Linked DNA regions of Homo sapiens: all the other regions are linked to region 2. Evidence: promoter capture Hi-C in 16 types of primary human blood cells and fetal thymus (Javierre and others, 2016). All regions are on one chromosome and are shown on one strand. The core of a region is centred on a gene start or on the middle of the fragment in contact, and the rest is flanking DNA. Distances in the headings are between cores, read along the strand shown.

Evidence for each region. Contacts are between HindIII fragments. The CHiCAGO score rates a contact against its expected background, and 5 or more counts as called.
Region 1: a contact is called between a fragment that was not itself captured here and the fragment with the promoter of MAP3K6 in region 2, in 2 of 17 cell types (endothelial precursors and M0 macrophages). The highest score is 6.4, in endothelial precursors.
Region 3: a contact is called between a fragment that was not itself captured here and the fragment with the promoter of MAP3K6 in region 2, in 2 of 17 cell types (total CD4 T cells and naive CD8 T cells). The highest score is 5.5, in total CD4 T cells.
Region 4: a fragment that was not itself captured here is called in contact with the fragment with the promoter of MAP3K6 in region 2 in 1 of 17 cell types (M0 macrophages); the score reaches 5.3 in M0 macrophages.

Annotation. Positions count from the first base shown.
Region 1 is chr1:27,056,435-27,059,272 of GRCh38, reverse strand. LOC101928391 (a long non-coding RNA gene) reads right to left here. Exons shown (of 8, transcript XR_007065559.1): 6 at 751-875. Among named protein-coding and RNA genes, the nearest start is that of TENT5B, 45 kb to the right of the region's middle. RefSeq lists silencers at 1-215, 941-1,235. The HindIII fragment of the contact is 671 bases long and covers 921-1,591 here.
Region 2 is chr1:27,365,624-27,368,323 of GRCh38, reverse strand. It overlaps MAP3K6 (mitogen-activated protein kinase kinase kinase 6), which reads left to right and starts at 1,363. Exons shown (of 29, transcript NM_004672.5): 1 at 1,363-2,066. The coding sequence starts at 1,727. RefSeq lists enhancers at 497-1,438, 1,439-2,382 and silencers at 1,635-1,744, 1,775-1,994, 2,065-2,114. The HindIII fragment of the contact is 32,893 bases long and covers 1-2,700 here.
Region 3 is chr1:27,660,319-27,663,018 of GRCh38, reverse strand. LINC02574 (long intergenic non-protein coding RNA 2574) reads left to right here and starts at 297. Exons shown (of 2, transcript NR_151722.1): 1 at 297-342; 2 at 2,297-2,691. RefSeq lists enhancers at 1-165, 235-444, 166-681. The HindIII fragment of the contact is 8,150 bases long and covers 1-2,700 here.
Region 4 is chr1:27,038,746-27,041,593 of GRCh38, reverse strand. All of the region lies in intron 3 of LOC101928391 (a long non-coding RNA gene), which reads right to left. Among named protein-coding and RNA genes, the nearest start is that of TENT5B, 27 kb to the right of the region's middle. The HindIII fragment of the contact is 2,180 bases long and covers 261-2,440 here.

The DNA of each region.
Region 1 (2,838 bases), core at 7-2,506, 310 kb after region 2:
CCCTCCTTCTCTTCTCCTCCCTCCTGTCTCCCCTGCGGCAACCTGAACTACTCGGCTCTCTCCCCGCTCCTCCTCCTCCTCTGCAACTCAGCTCTAGTCCTGCCTGAGGCCGAACCCTTGAACAGGAGGCCAGGGCTGGAAAGTTGTGGAAATGCCCCTGTGGGGAGCCCTGCCAAGGATGCTGAGGCTGAGCCCCAGCCTGGGGGAGGGGGTGTCCTGATCTGAGCAGACCCTGAGGGCAGACAGAAGGCAGCCAAGGTCTAGAGCTGGTGCCTCTAACCACCTCTACCCCAGAGGCTGTGGGATGCTTGGGAGCCAGGATAGGGCCGGGCTTTGGGTCTACACTACCTTGGTCCTGAGATGGAGTCTAGGAACATTGGTGGGGGTGCCAAGCATTCTGTAGAGGTAGGATGGGGTGGGTCCCTCTCACTTCTTCAGCCCTCAAGATTGCATACAACAGGCTCCTAAGAAATCACTGAGGCTGGCTGGCACGGTGGCTCACAGGTGGCTGAGGCAGGAGAATCACTTGAACCCGGCAGGCAGAGGTTGCAGTGAGCCAAGACCGCGCCACTGCACTCCAGCCTGGGTGACAGAGCGAGACTCCGTCTCAAAAAAAAAAAAAGAAAAAAAGAAAAAAAGAAATCCCTGAGGCTTTTAAGCCTCGGAGGGAGAGCCTGCTGACTCCTTGAGGTGTACAGAGGCACCAGTTTTTAGGAGGACAGAATCTTTCTAAGGCAGTTTGATTTTTACCTTCTCAGGTGCAGGAAAAGTGACTGTTTCCTTCTCTGTGAATTTCCCATGGACTAAGGGACTCCCGACAGGGGGAGGGCCCTCTTGGCAGTCAGCTTATTCTGAAATTTGAATTTCCAATGCACCTGGAGGAATCCAGAGGGGAAAGGTTGTTATTTATAACCAAAGCTTCCTTCTAAGGAAAGTAGATCCTGCTGCATTAACTAAAAGGCCCTTTTGTTCTTAAAAGGCCCTTACTGGGTTTGGCTTGGCAGCCTGGTTTGGGAAGAGCAGGAGGGGCTAGGGAGAGCTGAAATGCAGGGTCTCCTGTGTGAGAATTGGAAGCCCCTGGGGCATCGAGGTGTCTGTCACGCAGGGGCTGAAGAAGGGAGGCGGGTAGATGGGCATGGGCGCCAGCAGATGGGAGCAGCAGCCCTGTGCGGGCGGGGCTGGAGGATGCCTGAGAAACCAGCTTGTAAGAGCAGAGACGTCCCAGTGCCACTTTCAGTCGTGTGCTGAGCCACTCTATAACTCTTCCAGGGACCCACAAATCTTAGTGAAATTCTGCTTACAGAGCAGTCTGGTATCCACGGTTTCTTGGGAGAAGAAACGGGCTGCATCCTACATTTGAGTCAATTCCAGGGCAGAAATAAAGGGAACAGCTGCTAGAATTCAGCAGAAGCCGGAAATCAGAGGCACACAATTGTAAGCCTGAGAAATTGCAGAAGCCTTGTGGAAAGTAAGGGATGGGGTCTGAGCCAACCTTATTTCAATCCCAGTGGGCTGGCGGACCCCAGCTACCAACCATGGGTTCTGCCTAGGGGCAGATATTTGCCCCCCCGCTTCCTTGCTAAAAGAAGCTTGTTTTGTTCTGGTGGGAGGACAATGTACTAATTACCCCCAGGTGGATGGTGACTGGGATATTTACATTTGATCCACTCCCCTCTGCTGGTAATTGGGTTGGGGAGAACCATGGGACCCTGTTCTGGCCAATGAGATAAGAGGGGGAGGCTGCTGGGGGCTTCTGGGAGGAATTTTCCTCCTCTTACAAAAAGAGATGTTTTAGGAGGACCCCTGTCCAAGCCTCCCTTCCTGAGATGCTGCCCGTGGCAAATGCAGCCACACAAAAGTGCAGGCTCCAGGGTCAAACCATCTGGGCTAAAAGCATGGCTCTGCCTCCGATTGGCTGTGTTGTCTTAAGCAGATTACTTGACCTTTCTGTACCTCGTGTTCCTCCTCTGCAAAATGAAAATAATTGGACTTTCTTCTCAGGGTGCTGTGAAAATCAAATGAGTGAATACACCTAAAATGCCCAGACAGTTCTAGCACATGATAAGTACTCAATATATAACAGCTGTTATTTAGTTGCTCTCTGTGGATATGATGCTTGGAGCCACGGTAGTCATCTTTCAACCATGAGGGCCTTGACTCAAAAATGGTCTACCCCAAGATATCTTAAGATAAAAGTCCTGTGGGGTTTTTTTGTTGTGTTTTTTTTTTTTTTTTTTTTTTTTTGAGACACTCTCACTCCATTGCAGAGGCTGGAGGCTGGACTGTAGTGGTGTGATCATGGCTCACTGCAGCCTTGACCTCCCAGGCTCAGACGATCCTCCTGCCTCAGCCTCCTGAGTAGCTGGGACCACAGGCACATACCACCGCACCTGGCTCATTTAAAAAAATTATTCGGAGAAGGCCGGGCACAGTGGCTCACGCCTGTAATCCCAGCACTTTGGGAGGCTGAGGCGGGCAGATCACGAGTTCAGGAGTTCAAGACCAGCCTGGCCAACATGAGGAAACCCCATCTCTACTAAAAATACAAAAATTAGCCAGGCGTGGTGGTATGTGCCTGTAGTCCCAGCTACTTGGGAGGCTGAGGCAGAAGAATCACTTGAACCCGGGAGGTGGAGGTTGCAGTGAGCCGAGATCGCACCACTGCGCTCCAGCCTGGGCAACAGAGCAAGCCTCTGTCTCCAAAAAAAAAAAAAAAAAAAAAATTATTTGTAAAGATAGAGGTCTCCTCTTATGTTGGCTAAGCTAGGAAACTCCCAACTCTTTAGACAACTTTTAGCTTAGTATTCTGTTACTTGCAGCCTAAATCTCCCTAACCAA
Region 2 (2,700 bases), core at 114-2,613:
TTTGAGATGGAGTCTTGCTCTGTCGCCCCGCCCAGGCTGGAGTGCAATGGCACGATCTCCACTCACCGCAACCTCCATCTCCCAGGTTCAAGTGATTCTCCTGCCTCAGCTCCCAAGTAGCTGGGATCACAGGCAGGTGCCACCACACCCAGCTACTTTTTTTTGTATTTTTAGTAGAGACGGGGTTTCACCATGTTGGCCAGGCTGGTCTCGAACTCCTGACCTCGTGATCCACTCATCTTGGCCTCCCAAAGTGGGATTACAGGCATGAGCCACCGCCCTGGCTGGGAATTGCACAGCTTTCTCAGCCTGTCGGTTGCCCATGCCTGTCCTTTGTAAGTTGTCTGTTTTCCACTCCAGCCTCTGTTGCAGGCCAAGTTCTCAAACTCTACCACTTCCTGCCTATCTCATTGGGTGTCAGTTCGAATCCAAGGTCAAACCAAGGAAGGTACCTTTTTCTTCCACAAGGCAACAGGGCAATGAAACAGCCATTGAGTAGCATTTAAGCAGTTTATTTGCCCAAAGCCACATTCTAGTAAGTGGCAGAATTAAATAGTTAAGAGTCTGACAGGCGGTCCTGGGTTTGCACCCTGCTGTCATGTGCTGAGTGATCCTGGACAAGTTATTCAACTTAAGTCCCCAGTTCTTGGTTTCAGGGTCCACTGAGGCTTCTACCAGGTTGCTGCCTCACTCATTAATTCACACAAGAAAGTTGGGGACTCTTGGGGATTTGAAGCTGAGAAGCTGCTGTAGTGCAAAGGGCTGGGGTTGACTCCTTCAAGGGGTGGCTAAAGAAATGTTTAGAGTTGTTTAGAGTAGGAAGTGCTTCTCAGGTCCCATGGCCACGTTCTGCCTAGAAGTCAAAGGTCAGCGGGGGTCCACAGCAGGTTGGGTCCTGGGGAAAGCAGCCCCCTAGTGACAGTTAAGGCTCAGATGCCAAGTCCCACTCCAGGACTGAAGGCTTTCGGGCAAGCGGCCTAGGGTGTAGGTTTCCCCCATCCCAGTCCCTCCCTGCCTGCGCTCACTGGGCCCGGGAGGACACCCATTGTTCATCATGCTCTGCGCACCCTGATGTCTCTAGAGAGCCATTCATTCAACAGATACCTGCAGAGCAGGGCCTGCATATCGAACCTTTTCCCTAGCCCTGGCCTCCTCACACATTTTATGTGCACTTGCTGTGAGCAGTCCACAGTCTTTGGCGTGCACAGGGGCACAGGCTGTTCCGGAAGCCGCCAGTCTCCAAAGTTCTGGCGGGAGAGAAGGGAGGGGAGAGGCTGAGTCTCAAGCCGCTAGGGAGCGGCTCTGCCCCAGGGCCGAGGGTGGAGCTTTCTGGGTCGGCCGGGAAAGGGCTGGGCTTAGCCTACAAGTGAAGGCAGGGCAGCGTTGGCGGGCGCTCCCTTGAGAAGTCCAGGTGGCGGGCACCTCCGAGCCGATTCCCAGGATCCCCCAAGTGGCTCTGAGCTGCCGATCACCGGATGCCCCAGATTCCTGGGACCCAATCCCGGATTTCAGAACCTCAGGACCTTGCAAGTCCGAGCTAGGATTTCTCCCTGGACTTTAGATTCCTGGAACGGGACGTCAGGCCGTATTCCGGATCCCTAGATCCCGTGGGAGATTCTCCGATTCCGAACGGATTCCAGATCCCAAGATTCCTGATCTGCCGGCCCAGGCTCCTGCCCCGCCCCCGGTTCCCAGTGCGCGGCGCCCCGCGCCTGAGCGCCCCCGCATGGCGGGGCCGTGTCCCCGGTCCGGGGCGGAGCGCGCCGGCAGCTGCTGGCAGGACCCGCTGGCCGTGGCGCTGAGCCGGGGCCGGCAGCTCGCGGCGCCCCCGGGCCGGGGCTGCGCGCGGAGCCGGCCGCTCAGCGTGGTCTACGTGCTGACCCGGGAGCCGCAGCCCGGGCTCGAGCCTCGGGAGGGAACCGAGGCGGAGCCGCTGCCCCTGCGCTGCCTGCGCGAGGCTTGCGCGCAGGTCCCCCGGCCGCGGCCGCCCCCGCAGCTGCGCAGCCTGCCCTTCGGGACGCTGGAGCTAGGCGACACCGCGGCTCTGGATGCCTTCTACAACGCGGGTGAGAGCGCTGGGGGCGGGGCCGGATCCGGGCGGGACTCAGGGTCCTGGGAGGGGACCAAGCCGGGCTCGAAGGCTCAAGGGAGGGGCCGAGAGGGGTACCGGGTCTAGGGGACTTAAAGTGAGCTAAAGCTGAAGGGCTTGGGACAGGGCCGTGAAAAAAGTGGGATTTAGGGGATCTGGGGCGCGGCCGGGCTCGGGACGAGACAGGGATCCGGGCGCGGCTCTAGGGCTCGAGGTTGGGGCTTAGGCACCCTTCAGTCGGAGCGGTGCCCAGCCAGCGGGGCAAGGATGGGGAGGGGCTTTGGAACTCTGGGGCGGGGCGGGGAGCGGCGCGGGGCTGTGGTGTCTCAGGGGTGGGGTTGGAGAACTCAGCCTCACCCTCAGGAGAATGTCACGCGGATCTCTTGAGGACAATTACTGGGAGAGGAGCTTGGACTTAGGGAAAGGGGCCGGGAGGCTGGAGTTCAGGAGTCCTAGCATACTATTTCCAAGGATCGGGCTAGGAGAGGCAAAAAGAGAAGCGAAGGGGCCCGACGGGACTGGATACTGGGTGAGGGAGCTTAGGTTAAGTGGCCTCAGCGGCCCAGAAAGAATGGGCGGGGAAGGGGCGGGGAAGTGGGCGGGAAAGGATG
Region 3 (2,700 bases), core at 125-2,624, 290 kb before region 2:
GAGGAGCACACCACACGCACTTCTTGGCTGGGCAGCAGAGGGGGATGCTGGGAACTGGGCATCACTAGATTCTGCCTGGAAAGGGGGGTCTGGGCCAGCCGAGGGTCTGGGGCAACAGTAGCTGGAGGCTGCCGAGGCAGGGGAGGCCTGTGGCTTCCTGTGAAGAACAGAGGAGCCACTTCCTTTAAGCAGATGGCTGGGGGAGGGGTGGAAGATGAGGGAGCATAGGCTTCCTGGCTTAGCGGGCGGAAAAGGGGTCCCAGGAAGGCCCCATGAACAGGTCCAGAGCAGCCTTCTCTTTCCCTCTTTCTGGGTCTCCATGGAACAGACAGCTGAGACAAGGTAAGGTCACACTTGTGAAGTTCTGTGCCGTGAAGCCACAGAAAGGATAGTCAGGTTAGGGAACAGGCTCATCTGTAGAGGCCAGTAAAGAAATGGAGCCTTGGTTATTCCAAAAAGCAAGTCCAAGCACCTACCCCCCAGTATCCAAGTCCCAGTCCCCAGCCTCAGAACCCAGTCCCAGAAATCCAGCCCCCATTTCCCCGCTCCAAGCACCAGTTCCCAGAGAAACGTCCAGTGCCAAGTCAGAAGCTGGCAGAGGCCCACTGGTTCATTATCTGTGTGAACAAATGGCATGGGCCCACAGGAGAGATTTTTTTTTTTTTTTGAGACAGGGTCTTGCTCTGTCGCCCAGGCTGGAGTGCAGTAGCACAATCACGGCTCACTGCAGCCTTGACCTCCTGGGCTCAAGTGATCCTCCCACCTTAGCCTCCCAATTGGGACCACAGGCATGGACCACCACATCCAGCTAGTTTTTTTTTTTTTTTTTTTTTTTTAGATGGAGTTTCGCTCTGTCACCCAGGCTGGAGGGCAATGGTGCAATGGTGCGATCTCGGCTCACTGCAACCTCCACCTCCCGGGTTCAAGCGAGTCTCCTGCCTCAGCCTCCCGAGTAGCTGGGATTACTGGTGCGTGCCACCATGCCCGGCTAATATTTGTATGTTTAGTAGCTACGGGGTTTCGCCATGTTGGCCAGGCTGGTCTTGAACTCCTGACTTTAGGTGATCTGCCTGCCTCAGCCTGACCACAAATTCTTGATGAACCAGTAGAGCTTGCCTCCCAGCACCCACAGCTACCAGGGCACAGCGTGGTTTAACTGCTCCAGGTTCTGATCTGCAGAAGGGGTAGGGGTCTTCACTCAGCCATGATCACTATCCTTGGAACCCACCAAACTAAGCCCATTTCTCCTTCAGTCTTTCACACTTGGGCCAAAGACACCTCCAGGCATGCCGGTGCCTAGGCCAGACACCTTCCCAAAGGCTTTTCCCCCTAACTTTTCAGTGATGGCTCCTTCTGCACTCTTTGGTCTTCACTCAAATGTCACCTCCTCAGAGAAGCCCTCCCTGACCACCTACTTTAAAATTGCCTCCTTGTTTCTCTCTACCATAGTAATTGCCAACTTGTCTGCCCCTTGGAATCATCTGAGAGCTTAAAATTGTATGGATACCTGTGTCTCACTCACGGTGTGGGAACAGCTTGCTCTCCATGTCACTCTTTTAATTTTCTGTATAAAGCCAGTAAAGACATAGAGTCTTGGTGACTCCAAGAAGTAGGCCCGGGTACCCAACCCCAAGTACCCAAGTCCCAGTCCTCAGCCTCAGAGCCCAGCTCCAAACACCCAGGTCCAAAGTTTTACATATATTAACTCTTTTCATCCTTACAATAATTCTCTCGGGTGTTCTTAGGATCCGCATTTTACAGATGAAGAGATCAAGGTACAGAGAGGTTAAATAATTTCCCTAAGGCAAGCAGCTAGCAAGTGACAGGACAAGGATTTGAACCCAGAGAGTCTGCCTCTGTAGAACAGTGCCTGGCATCTAGAGGGGCTCAATAAATAATTGTCCAATGAATGAATGACTTAATCTTAACTCCCTCTGCCTCACCCACCCCCATATTCAATCCATCAACCCACCTGCCTGAGGATTGTATCTTCTAATTATTTATTGAATCTGTTCATGTCCCACCCACAGTAGCCTCCCTCTCATCTAGCTTACTACCTTCCATGCTGGAGGGCACCTCCTAGGTGTCCCTGTGTCCACTCTTACTCCCGTATCCACTCCTGTCTATTCTCCACACAGAGGTAGGGAGATTTTAAAACACTAAGTACCCAGTGACTGCCCACAGCACTTAGAAGAAAATTCTATTTCCTTACTATGGCCTCCAAGGTCTTAAATAATTCGCTCCCGTAAACCTCCAGAGCCTCATCTCACTCAGTTTCCTTTCCCTTATTTTCCAGCCTGCTAGCCTCATTGCCTTTGCACAAGCTCTTCCCTCTGCCTGGAACACTTGTTGCTTCAGGAGTCGGCTCGATGTAACTTCTACAGGGACCTGAGCCCCAATCCAAGTTAGACACCTGGTTATTGCAGCAGCCTGTATCTCACCGTCCCAGAATGAATCATGACTGCAATGAAAACGATGGCATGAGCATTTGTTACCATCAGGCTTCCGCCCTAGATTATGAGCTCCCTGAGGACAAGCAGAGGGTTCATCTCTCTTTATAGCTAGAACCCAGCACAGCGCCTGGCACTCAGGAGGCACCCAATTACTTTGGCTGACTGGATAGACATACATACAGACGGACGGATAAATGGCTGGAAGAGGAGTGATTGAAAAAATACATTTTAAAATGCCCTGGCTGCA
Region 4 (2,848 bases), core at 101-2,600, 330 kb after region 2:
TTGAAAGGTTTAAAGGTGACCAGAGGGGCAGGAGAGTGTCAACATGAACGCTTGGGTGGGCTATGACCTTCGATAGACCTATGTTTGAATCCCAGCCCCACCATTCATTTATCTTGGGTAAATTACTGAAGCTCCCTGAGCCCCAGTTTCCAAATCTTTACAGTGGGAATAATGATAGCATCACCCCAAGATCCTCTCGTGCAGGTTCAATGAGGCAGTATGGGTGAAATAGCTGCTGTTATTTTCAGACTTACCAAGCTTGTGACCCTGGAGTGTAGGGTGAGGTGCGGTGGGGAAGAGGCCACTCAGGGTACAGCCTGCCCAGCCACAGGCTGGGGAGACTCCTGCTGTGTTGCTGCCTCTGCCTGCTAGACAGTAGTTATTTTACAATTACTATCGTCCATCCTTTCCCATCACTCCTGCTTTAGAGTTTACAGAGTGCTTTCATTCATTCATCCCTCCATTCACTCATTCAGCTTTTACAGAGTGCCTCTTATGTAAGCCAGGCATGGTGCCGGGCTTCCAGTATATCCTGGTGAACGAGGTAGGTACTGTCCTTGCACCTGGACGACTTACAGACATCCAGTAGTTAATCACACGAATAAATATGTAGTTAGAAATTGGATTGCCGGGCGCAGTGGCTCACACCTGTAATCCCAGCACTTTGGGAGGCCGAAGTGGGCAGATCACAAGGTCAGGAGATCGAGAATATCCTGGCTAACATGGTGAAACCCCATCTCTACTAAAAATACAAAAAATTAGCCAGGCGTGGTGGCAGGTGCCTATAGTCCCAGCTACTCAGGAGGCTAAGACAGGAGAATGGCGTGAACCCGGGAGGCAGAGGTTGCAGTGAGCCGAGATCGCGCCACTGCACTCCAGCCTGGGCGACAGAGGGAGACTCCACCTCGAAAAAAAAAAAAAAAAAAGAAGTGGTTTCCCTGAGAAACTGGGAAGGCCCTTCAGAGTGGACCCAAACTGAGGCAAGGTGGCCAGGCCTTTGAGCCTCCCATTAACCAGTAACAGGCTGCCCCTGGGGAGCAGACATGCCCTTGTCCCTGAGGATGGGACATTTGACTGAAATTTGAAGGCTGGAAAGGAGCTGAGGGAAATGGAAAAGAGCCCTGCTACAGAGGGAGGCATGGGGAACAGGGAGGCAGCCTTGAGGCAGCTGCAGCAGCTGAGAGGAGGTGTGCAGAGCTGGGAGGTAACCCCCGGGGTCAGGAGCTCAATTTATCGTCAAAGCAATGGGTAGCCTTGAAGGGCTTAAGCTGGAGATTGGCTGGATCTGCTTGGATCCTTCTGGCTGCCCTGTGGAGAAGGGGTCAGAAGAGGCAAGAGAGCCGGGGGGGGGGAAACCACTTAAGAAGCTGTGGAGATTTAGACAGGCCACAACCTTGGCCTCAGGCGGTGGCTCCCGAAATGGAGAAAGAAGGAGGAGGCAGTAAAGTCTGACCCTCGGGGGGCTGAAGCCAAGCCAGAGCCTCCACTATGGCTGGTTGGTTGTCTCAGGAGCAGTCACTCTGGGCTCTGGGCTCTGGGCTCTGGGACCCTGAAACAGACTCAGAGGAGATCCTCACTCAGCAGCTTACGGGGGGCTGCTCTCAGGGACCACCCCAAAAGGGAGTGAGAAGCAGAAGCTACAGCCAAGGCCTCAGCCTATTCCACAGGGAATTCTGGGGCTGAAAGGGCCCTTTAGAGGCGACCCAAACTGAGGCAAGGCGGCCGCATCTTTGAACCTCCCTGTTGACTGTTAAAAATCTAGACTTATTACAGAGCTCTCCCCCATCCCTCCCATTTGCGGAACTTCACAGGTGTTTACATACATCCAGGAGCCCACACTGGGTCAGCCTCAACTCTGGGTGCTGCTCGGCCCAGTACACAGTAGGCGCTCACTGAATGTTAGAAGGCCCAGACAGAGTGGAGGGAGGAAAGAGGCTCAAGTTCTAAGGAGGCTCCCAGCTTTCTTTGTGGTTTGGGCCCCAGGCTAAAACAGGCCAAACTGGGGAGAGAAGACCATGCAATGAGTTTGGGACATGTGAGGCTGCGGTGGCCAGCCCCCCGAGAAGCCCCACCGTGAAGGAGGAAGAGGAAGAGACCGAGAGGAGAGGACTCAGGGAGGGGGAGCCTGGAAGGTAGAGTTCCAGAACGCATGGAGGTGGCAATGATGACGCCAAGGAAGGAGCAGCAGAGATGAGGACCCAGAAGAGGGGATGCAGAGAATGCGGCAGGGTCTGGTGAGGGCAGGGTCAATGCAGGAAACAGAAACCCCTCTTGGTGTTTTTAGCAGCAAAGTATTTAATACAGAGCAGTAGGTCCTTGCACAACCATCAGAGAGGCTCAATGAGCCAGGCCTCCAGGAATGATTCCAGACCTTTCCATACTCGACCCACTGAGAAAGTCAACGCCAGAGCTATGAATTCAACAACTTACCACTGAAGCTTCAATGCAGGGATCAGAAAGCTGGATTTAAGAAGCTGCTACCCCTGCTTTCATCCCTGCGACTACCTCTGAGCAAGCTCGAGGCTGGAGCCTGACACCAGATCACCAGTGCAGAAAAACCTCGTGTTCCTGCAACCTTGCAGGCTGGCAGAAACAGCCAAAAGGGGGCACAAAATAACTTAAAATTAATAAAATGACAATTTAGCAACAACAACCAACACTTACATAGTGCCTATTATGTGCCAGGCACTGTTCTATTATTATTTCTATTTTATTTTTATTTATTTATTTATTTTTATTTTTATTTTTTTGAGACACAGTTTCACTCTTGTCACCCAGGCTGGAGTACAGTGGTGTGGTATCAGCTCACAGCAATCTCCGCCTCCTGGGTTCAAGCAATTCTCCTGCC